Regions from separate parts of the Homo sapiens genome. Here region 2 is linked to region 1. Evidence: promoter capture Hi-C in 16 types of primary human blood cells and fetal thymus (Javierre and others, 2016). All regions are on one chromosome and are shown on one strand. Each heading gives the region's core, a stretch centred on a gene start or on the middle of the fragment in contact. The rest is flanking DNA. Distances are from core to core; before and after follow the strand shown. Region 1 holds the start of CAPNS2 (calpain small subunit 2). Region 2 has its middle 9.4 kb from the start of CES1.

Region 1 (4,565 bases), core at 539-3,038:
GGAAAGGTAACCTACAGAATGAAAGAAAATATTTACAAATTATATATCTGATAAGGGATTAATATCTAGAATATTTAAAGAACTCCTGCAACTCAACAACAAGAAACCCAACAAATAACCAGATTTTAAAATGGCCAAAAGATTTAAATAGACATTTTTCCAAAGATCTTCTTTGGTCAGTAAGTATTAATACATTAAAAGATGCTCAACATCATTAATCATTAGGGTAATGCAAATCAAAACTACAATGTTATACCACTTTACAGCCATTAGGATGGCTATTATTAGAAAACAAAACAAAAGAGAAAATAACAAGTGTTTGCAAGCATATGGAGTAATTGGAACTCTTGTGTATTGCTGGTGGGGATGTAAGTGGTACAGTCAATAAGGAAAAGCGTATGGTAGTTCCTTAAAAAGATAAAAATAGAATTATCATATGATTCAGCAATTCCACTTCTTGGTATATACCCAAAAGAATTGAAAGCAAAGACTCAAACAAATATTTGTATACCCATGTTCATAGCAGCATTATTCCCAATAGCCAAAAGGGCAACCCAAGTATTCACCAATGGGATAATGGAAAAACAAAATGAGTATATTAATGCAATACAATATTATTCATCATTAGAAAGGAAGGGAATTCTGACACATGATACAACATGGATGAATCTTGAAGAAATTATGCTCATTGAAATAAGCAAGTCACAAAAGAACAAATACTGTATGATTCCACTTATATAAGGCATGCAGAGTAGTCAAATCATAGAGCTAGAAAATAGAGAGATGGTTACCAGGGGTGGGGGAAGGGGAGAATGGGAGTTATTCTTTAATGGGTACAGTTTCAGTTTTGCCAGATGAAAAAAGTTCTGAAGATAGCTGGTGGTGATGGTTTCACAATGCAAATATACTTAATGCCACTGAACTCTATACTTAAAAATGGTTAAAATAGTATATTTTATGGCATGTGTATTTTATCACAATTTTAAAACATTTAACATTTTTATAATGAAAAAGGAATAAATGAAAGAGTCTGTACTGTCTGATTTAATTTATTTAAGGTGCAAAAATAAATCTATGGTGTTAGATGTCAGGACAGTGGTTATCCTTGGAAGACGGAAGTAACTAGAAAGAAGTATGAAGAGGCCTCTGAGATGTGTGCAGTCTGTGAAATTCTTTGAGCTATCCATTTGTGATTTATATGATACATTTTTTACATGAATGTTACATTTCAAAAAAGATTTTAGCAATGTCGATCACAGACACCACAGCAGCCCTATGGAATCAGAATCTCTGGGAGTGGAAATTCAGGACCTTGCATTTTAAAAATCTCCCTTCTAAATTTTTCTTAAGACTACTGGATTTTGAGAATCTTTGCTAAAGGAAGAGGATTAAATATTCTTCCAATGCCCAAGATTTCTTCAATTCTATTCTAACAATAAATATTTCTTAGAGAATAAATTTTTGATTTCCTTGCATCATTTACCTTTTTCCTGTTAGGAAAATGCACATCATTTTTTAGGTGCTGAGACAGAGGACTAAGAAATCAATGACATAAAAATGCATACTTTAATATTTTTTCTTTAAAACTATTATCCTAAGGTGTCCTACATACTATAATTTATAAGTATCTGGAAGAGTGAAAACAATTTTATTGAGGCCTTGTAAAATATGGCAGGTGCTAGGACCTCATGGAACTCAGGTATCTTCAGTAGGATGTGAAACATCACATCATGGGGCGTGGTGCAGTGTAAGCAGGTAAAGAAAAGCCAGTTCTTCCACATGTAAACTACTTGAACTCCATTTCATCTTTTTTCATACCATCTCTAAGATTGCTGCCGCATTTGCTTGTTAAACTGAAAGCATGTTTCTTGCAAAGGCTCTATTGGAAGGAGCAGATCGAGGTCTTGGAGAAGCTCTTGGAGGCCTCTTTGGAGGAGGTGGTCAGAGAAGAGAAGGAGGAGGAAGAAATATTGGAGGGATAGTTGGAGGAATTGTGAATTTTATCAGTGAGGCTGCAGCAGCTCAGTATACTCCAGAACCGCCTCCCACTCAGCAGCATTTCACCAGTGTGGAGGCCTCAGAAAGTGAGGAAGTTAGGCGATTTCGGCAACAATTTACACAGCTGGCTGGACCAGACATGGAGGTGGGTGCCACTGATCTGATGAATATTCTCAACAAAGTCCTTTCTAAGCACAAAGATCTTAAGACTGACGGTTTTAGTCTTGACACCTGCCGGAGCATTGTGTCTGTCATGGACAGTGACACGACTGGTAAGCTGGGCTTTGAAGAATTTAAGTATCTGTGGAACAACATCAAGAAATGGCAGTGTGTTTATAAGCAGTATGACAGGGACCATTCTGGGTCTCTGGGAAGTTCTCAGCTGCGGGGAGCTCTGCAGGCCGCAGGCTTCCAGCTAAATGAACAACTTTACCAAATGATTGTCCGCCGGTATGCTAATGAAGATGGAGATATGGATTTTAACAATTTCATCAGCTGCTTGGTCCGCCTGGATGCCATGTTTCGTGCCTTCAAGTCTCTGGATAGAGATAGAGATGGCCTGATTCAAGTGTCTATCAAAGAATGGCTGCAGTTGACCATGTATTCCTGAAGTGGGAACTGAGAAGTCAAGATCCTCCCTGGAGGACAGGACTGAAAACCTTGCCAAGCTGTACACAGTTGCTGATACCCTGTGCAACAGCTCTCATTTCCTGGCAAGCTCTTTCACAACCCTACATATTTCTGATCATGTGCTGCCTTTTACTGCTGAATTAAAACAGATATTTCACGAAAAATGTTCTGAGTGGTTTGTATATCAGCTTTTTGAGATTTGGATTTATATGGACTTGCATATATATGGTGGGGAGGTTGTGGGGTAGAGTTCTAATGGAGTAGATTTTAAAAGGTGTTGCTTATTTAGTGAATAAATTCCAAGGAGTAGGAACTTTATTATTGTTGTTATTGTTGTTAAGAATGAATTTTTTTAATCCTAGAATAAATCAAGAAAGCCCTCAGGAGATACATTTTCCATTTTAAAAAGTTGAGGAGAGAGGTTCAAAATCTGTTTTTCTTGTAATTTTATACCTGGTTTTCCCATTATGTAAAAAAATGAAAAGTGCTTTTTAGGAAACTTATTTAACCATAAAGAAACAGGTTCAGACAATGAAATTAAGCAGTTTTATATAAGGGTAGCATTTTTTTAAATGATGGAGCTACTATCTAAAATTCTAAAGTTCTTTAATTCTGTTTCTTTAGTAAAAAAAAGCACTAGCAATTTTGTTTTGATACATTTGTAAAGAGAGTCAAAGACATTGAGGAATAAAACAATATGCTCATAGTTCAAAAATGTCTCTAGCTGCCTTAATGAATCAAAATGTTTGCTCTTACACGTACTTCATACAAAATCAGGCATGCCCTGTTGACGTTAGCCAGCTCTTGTCGTGTCTTGTCCTGCCTTAGAGCAAGGAAAATTCTTTTGTTCATCTTTGAAAACTACAGGCAGGAAATAAGCAGCAAACAAAGAAAAACAAAAAAAGAAAAACACATGAACAGTAATCAGTTAAATGGAATGTAAACCAATATAGAGAACACATATTGCTGACTATTGCAATTATTCTCAGCCCTGGCTGCAATTTGGAATCACTGGGAGAGCTCTTTAGGAATACTAATACTTGAGTCTCCAAATATGTTAAATAAGACTTTTTAGAGGTGGGGCCCAGAGATGAATATGTTTAAAGCTCCCCAAGTGATTCTAATGATCAGCCAAGGTTGACAGCCTTGATTGCTTTGAAGTAGGGCCACCTCACAGTATTTTTCAAGCCTGTCTCAGCCAAAACTAAGGCCATGCAGGAGAGTCAGTGTTGCCAGCATTCAGGAGAAGGAAGATAGAAATACCAAGAAAATGCCACCCAAAAGCTGGGGTAGTTGTGCCTTTCTTGCGTACAGACCTTGGTTTGGCTTTATAATTTTGATAATAGGCTAATATAGCAGAGCAAACAGAATCCAGGATTCCGGTGCCAGTAGACACAGCTAGAGAGGCTACATTTGCAAGTGCTTGGTTCCTCTGTCTGCTATTTAATTGGTCTCTACCCATTCTGCTTCTCTGATTTTTAATGCATTGTCTCTATCCCAGGCTACTTTGGAGGGTCATCCCGAGTTTGCAGATAAATTCTTCCTTCCTCTTTGGACTCATTTAGAAGAAAGTTGTAACTATGGAAATGATGTAACTAGCCTGTTAACATCCCTCAGCTTCCTGTTAGAAATCCCCAGTGAAATGTGGAGAGGTTGGCTTTTGACCTTTGTGTTCACCATCATCACCATCATACAATATTTATGAAACACCACACACATATAATTCTGAACTGAGCCAAGCACAGAGATCACATCCACTTTCCTCAAGGGACTTGTAATTTAACCTTGGTCTGGTGTGCTACTTAGACCAGGTGTGGTTACATAAGAAGGAGGCTGCTGCCAGCAACCACACATTAATAACAATCTCTCTATTTTAGAATAAGTCCAGGAATATGTTAGGCATGGATGTAGTAAAGTAGCCAAGAAAGGGGAAAGCT
Region 2 (4,565 bases), core at 1,179-3,678, 280 kb after region 1:
CAGAGCTAGGTACCAGATGGAACAGCCCCAATGCTGCAGAGCCCCCTGAAATTGTTCAAACTAACCACTCCTAAACCTGCTCACCCTGCCTCACCTCTTCCTTCCCGGGGAAACCACAGGAACACCTTTTGCCACATCCCCATCACCACCACCTTCTGATGGACTCCAGCGTTGTCTGTGCAGCCTCCTGCTCCCATGGCATGGAGTGCCCCCTCGTCTTGTCTTGGGATCTGTGAGTAACAAGCTACTTATCCTTTCTTTCTTTCTTTTCTTTCTTTCTTTCTTCTCTTTTTTTTTTTTTTTTTTTTTTTTTGAGACAGAGTCTCGCTCTGTTGCCCAGCCTGGAGTGCAATGGCACAATCTTGGCTCACTGCAACCTCTGTCTCCCAGGTTCAAGTGATTCTCCTTCCTCAGGCTCCCGAGTAGCTGGGATTATAGGCACCCACCACCAGCTATTTTTTTTTTTTTTTGGTATTTTTAGTAGAGACAGGGTTTCACCATGTTGGTCAGGCTGGTCTCGAACTCCTGACCTCAGGTAATCCATCCACCTTGGCCTCCCAAAGTGCTGGGATTATAGATGTGGGCCAGCATGCCCAGCCCAAATTGCTTTTTCAATGGCTGACATCTGATTGGTGGGCCTGCCATACCTAAATAATGATAAAACCTTTATTTTAAAGCACTATTCTCTAGGAATAATTCTGAATGAGCCCAAAGATATATGTATCAGGTGGTCACCTCAGTGAAGTTGACAATGGTACAAAATAGGAAATCATTCGAATGGCTAACAATAGTAGACAGTTAAATAATTTATTGAGTATTATACTATGGGATGCAATGTAGCTGTCAGAAAGGTAGAAAAAATTGTTTTTAAATGTTTGTGTAAAGGAAAAACGGTTTACCACTTCCTGTGAAAGAAGAGGGATCCAAAATTTTTTATTTCCCCCCTCCAATTATCCTAAAAAAAAACAGTGAAATAAAGTTTTTAAAGCTACAAACCCACACTGACAAACTGTGAAAGAAGAAATGACAGCATTTTGGACACTGAGAGGCCAACAGAATGACGATAACTAGTTTTAGAACAGAAAAAGGAGACGTTAACTCCTGGAAAGAAAGACACCACCATGCACCTATGCAATCAGAATAGAGACAGAAAAGACTCTCTGGGTTTAGGGGTATTGGATGCCTGTAGAAGTTGGGGTGTAGGTAACCCCCATTTATGCCCATGGGGAGTGCACCTCTCCCCTTTGAGCTCCACCCCAAGGCCAAAGTTTCCTGGAGGCTCTTTGCCTCTGCCACTCCTAGAACTGGGCTGACCCCAGGAACTCCAACCACCTAATTACAACAGAATATCGGAAGGGCCTTGCCAGATGTCAACATAAGATGATTTCTGTCCAGAGATCTGAGTGTCAAAAGGAAGAAGTTTCCCAAAGCTCATGTAATGGCTGCAGTAATGATGACTCTTGATGAAGTCAATGCCTGGCCACCAAACAAGCTCTCATGATGGTGGACAAGTTTGTCCTTGCCTTCATATTACTAATTGGCCATCAACAGTCCATTTTTCCCATTGAATAACTTATTTTCAGAAATGTGCTTCTATAACTCAATTGTTGCATGCAGTGAAACTAATGGAGGACTTATATAGTGATAAATAACAATCAAAGTGTACCAATCCTTCTAAAAATACCGAAGGTATCAGCCAGAGTTCTGTTCTCTCATATGAAAAGTTCAGGAGGTGAATAGAGCTTGAAACACAATTACATAAATAAATGTAATAAATGAAATAAATAGATTAGATAGATAATAGATAGATCATAGATAATTGATAGATGATAGATAATAGGTAGGTAGGTAGATAGGTAGATAGACAGACAGACAGACAGACAGACAGACAGACAGACAGATAGATAGATAGATATTTTATGGCATTATCTTCCGATAAAGAGAGAAGTCTGTTTCCTAAAGGTCAAGGTAGAAAAGCTGTCCTCCAGGCACCCACAGTGTGCTCCAGCAACCTTGCCAACACCAGCCCTGCTGCCCGTGGGCTGGCCCCCTTGCCACCACTGCTCAGGGTCACACTTCCGCCATGCTGTGGCTGGCCATCCCCCTTCCTACCCATCCTTTAATTTCAGACTTGAGCTCCACCCCATTCATGGAGCACAGCGAGCTCTTTGCAATGAATTTCCTTGTATTTTGAGACAATCAAGCGGCAAGGTAGGTTTTTTTCTCCCCAGCCCTTCCCGTCCTTGGGAATAATGAGGCACACTCTCAATACGAACTTTTAGCAGAGCATACGGGGCAGGACTGAGTGGGATCTGTCCCTGCTGGGGGAAGGGAGGCTCATCTTGTAGATGCGCTACCTGGGGCAGCACCAGGTGGGGCAGCTACCCAGGTGCAGGGCCTGAGCCCGCTTCCCACCCTCCCCTGCAGCTCTGCCCTGGGGGAATCTGGACTGAGTTGGTCCAAGGAGAGGAAATCCCTTATGTCCCTCTGAGGTAGGCTCCTGGAGACTTAATGGGAAAGTCCAGGAGGTGGAAAAGGGAAAAACTGCTGGCTCCAACCTCTGTTCTGCTAGTGAGTTTAGTCTTTTCAGTCAGACTTTTCAGGGAGTGGATTCTGCCTTTTCCTCTTTCCAAATGTTACAGATGGAATGGATAACACTATATTGTATTGGCTTGTATATAATTTAACTATTTGGCATGGTCTTATTGTCAGTCCAAGTTCTGCGATGTCACACCACCAGCATCTCAGGAGCCTCAGAATAGAGGGAAGCGTTTTTCCTTTGTGATAATGCTGCCCTCTACTGGACATCAGGAAATTCACAGGTGAAGACCGACGTAGTTTGTCCCTAAAGTTTTGCTTTGATTTAATTTAATGGATAGGGTTCAAGATTGTTTAAAAAAAAGGGGAGAGTGGGGAGGGGGAGGCAGTGGGTCCTGGAAAAGTAAATTGTTTATTTTACAATAAGAAAGTGGTTAAATATTTTATTTTTTTTACAATGGTGGAAAATTAGAAGTGATTGTGAAAATGATGTGTACCTGTCTTGCTGGTGAGTAGGATGTGATTTGGCGCTTTAGGAAAGTGAATTTGTAGAACTCAAAAATATTGACTTATAAAGGGCATGGCCGTTGACCCAGTCCATCTTATGCAAATCTAGATGCCATAAATAATATTTAAAAGTAAAAATACTGGGGTGGAGGTTGCAGTGGGCAGAGATCGCGCCACTACACTCCAGCCTGGGTGAAAGAGTGAGACTCTGTCTCAAAACAAAACAAAAAAAAAGAAGTCATTCCCAATGTTGCTCATCAAATTATGACCATAAATATCCAGGATAAGACTAGTGGCTAAAGAAACTGTGACACGTCAACACCAGGCAGAAAATAAAGCAGATTTTTTTGTTGTTTTGGAGAGCCTCTAGGAACTTGAAAAATACATATGCCACACTCTTAAGACCCAGTGGTTCTTAATCGGGGTGTTCATTAAAATGCCAGAAAACTGAAAATACTTCTAGGTCCCATCCAAGGAGATTTTGCTTCCGATTGACTGGCTAGTGGCCTGGCCATTGGTATTTTAGAAAAACCCTCCAAGTGATTATTTTACTTACATTCCAGATAGAAAACTCTAAATTAAAGGGGAAAAAAACAGACACAAAGTGGCATTTAAATAAATGTCAACTTTAACTCCACAAAGCATCTGATTGCATGTGGACAGAAAGAGAAGGAAAGAGGGCCCTATATCTGGATAACTTAGAAATGTGCTCCCCCTAGCAAGATATCTACCAAAATTAGAAACACATTTGAGGATGCTGGCACTGCGAGCAATATATAAATGATGCGTGTAATGTCATTTAATATGATCGTATTTTTAAAAATGAGTTGAGTGGTGTTTTCTAGCTGTTAGTTTTTCCAAATATCAATATAGAAATTAGTCTTCTGCAGCTGCAGAGGCAATTCAGTTTCCAGCTTGCTTTCACGGCCTAGAGCCATAAAGTGGCCCAGAGCATCTCTGATCCACCCCTCCCACAACCACCTAATCCAGAGACAACCGAATGCTTTGGACCATCTGATGAGAGAGGTAGCTGCATGGCAGTAAGAGTCCTGCTCTGAAGTGACAAGAGCCTTAAGGCCTGGTTTTGACTTACTGCTAACTTGCTCACACTGCATACTTGCTGAGTGATCTTGGGTGAATCGTTTCACCTCTCTGAGGTTCACTATGAAATGAGAGGTCAAGGGTCCAAACTTAAACACCTTCAGAGGTTGGGTAATATCAGTGAGTAAAATAGACCAGGCACAGCACAAAGGGGTATGGTGTGGACTGTGGCACGTTGAGAACTTAGGCCTCTGCAAAGGGGGCAGCCACCTCTCAGTTCCTGCAGATTACTCTATCTTTGCTGAGGACAGTTGCACAGGTAGTGCACTGCAGAAGGGTAACACTTTAGAGAAGGTGTCATTTGCATCATAAATGCAGATATTTATCCATGGCAGTTTCATGGAAGATGTCTGTAGAAGGTTTTGAGGAAGGGGCACCTTGTAATTTGCATAAAAGGTTGTATGGACCGCCAGAAGTGC

What was found. The method cuts DNA at HindIII sites, captures the fragments that hold promoters and counts their contacts. A CHiCAGO score of 5 or more calls a contact.
Region 2: a contact is called between a fragment that was not itself captured here and the fragment with the promoter of CAPNS2 in region 1, in 2 of 17 cell types (monocytes and M2 macrophages). The highest score is 8.4, in monocytes.

What each region holds. Positions count from the first base shown.
Region 1 is chr16:55,564,896-55,569,460 of GRCh38, forward strand. CAPNS2 (calpain small subunit 2) reads left to right here and starts at 1,789. Exons shown (of 1, transcript NM_032330.3): 1 at 1,789-2,792. The coding sequence starts at 1,862. The coding sequence ends at 2,608. All of the region lies in intron 11 of LPCAT2 (lysophosphatidylcholine acyltransferase 2), which reads left to right. The HindIII fragment of the contact is 9,105 bases long and covers 1-4,565 here.
Region 2 is chr16:55,840,219-55,844,783 of GRCh38, forward strand. No RefSeq gene overlaps it. Among named protein-coding and RNA genes, the nearest start is that of CES1, 9.4 kb to the left of the region's middle. The HindIII fragment of the contact is 6,371 bases long and covers 1-4,565 here.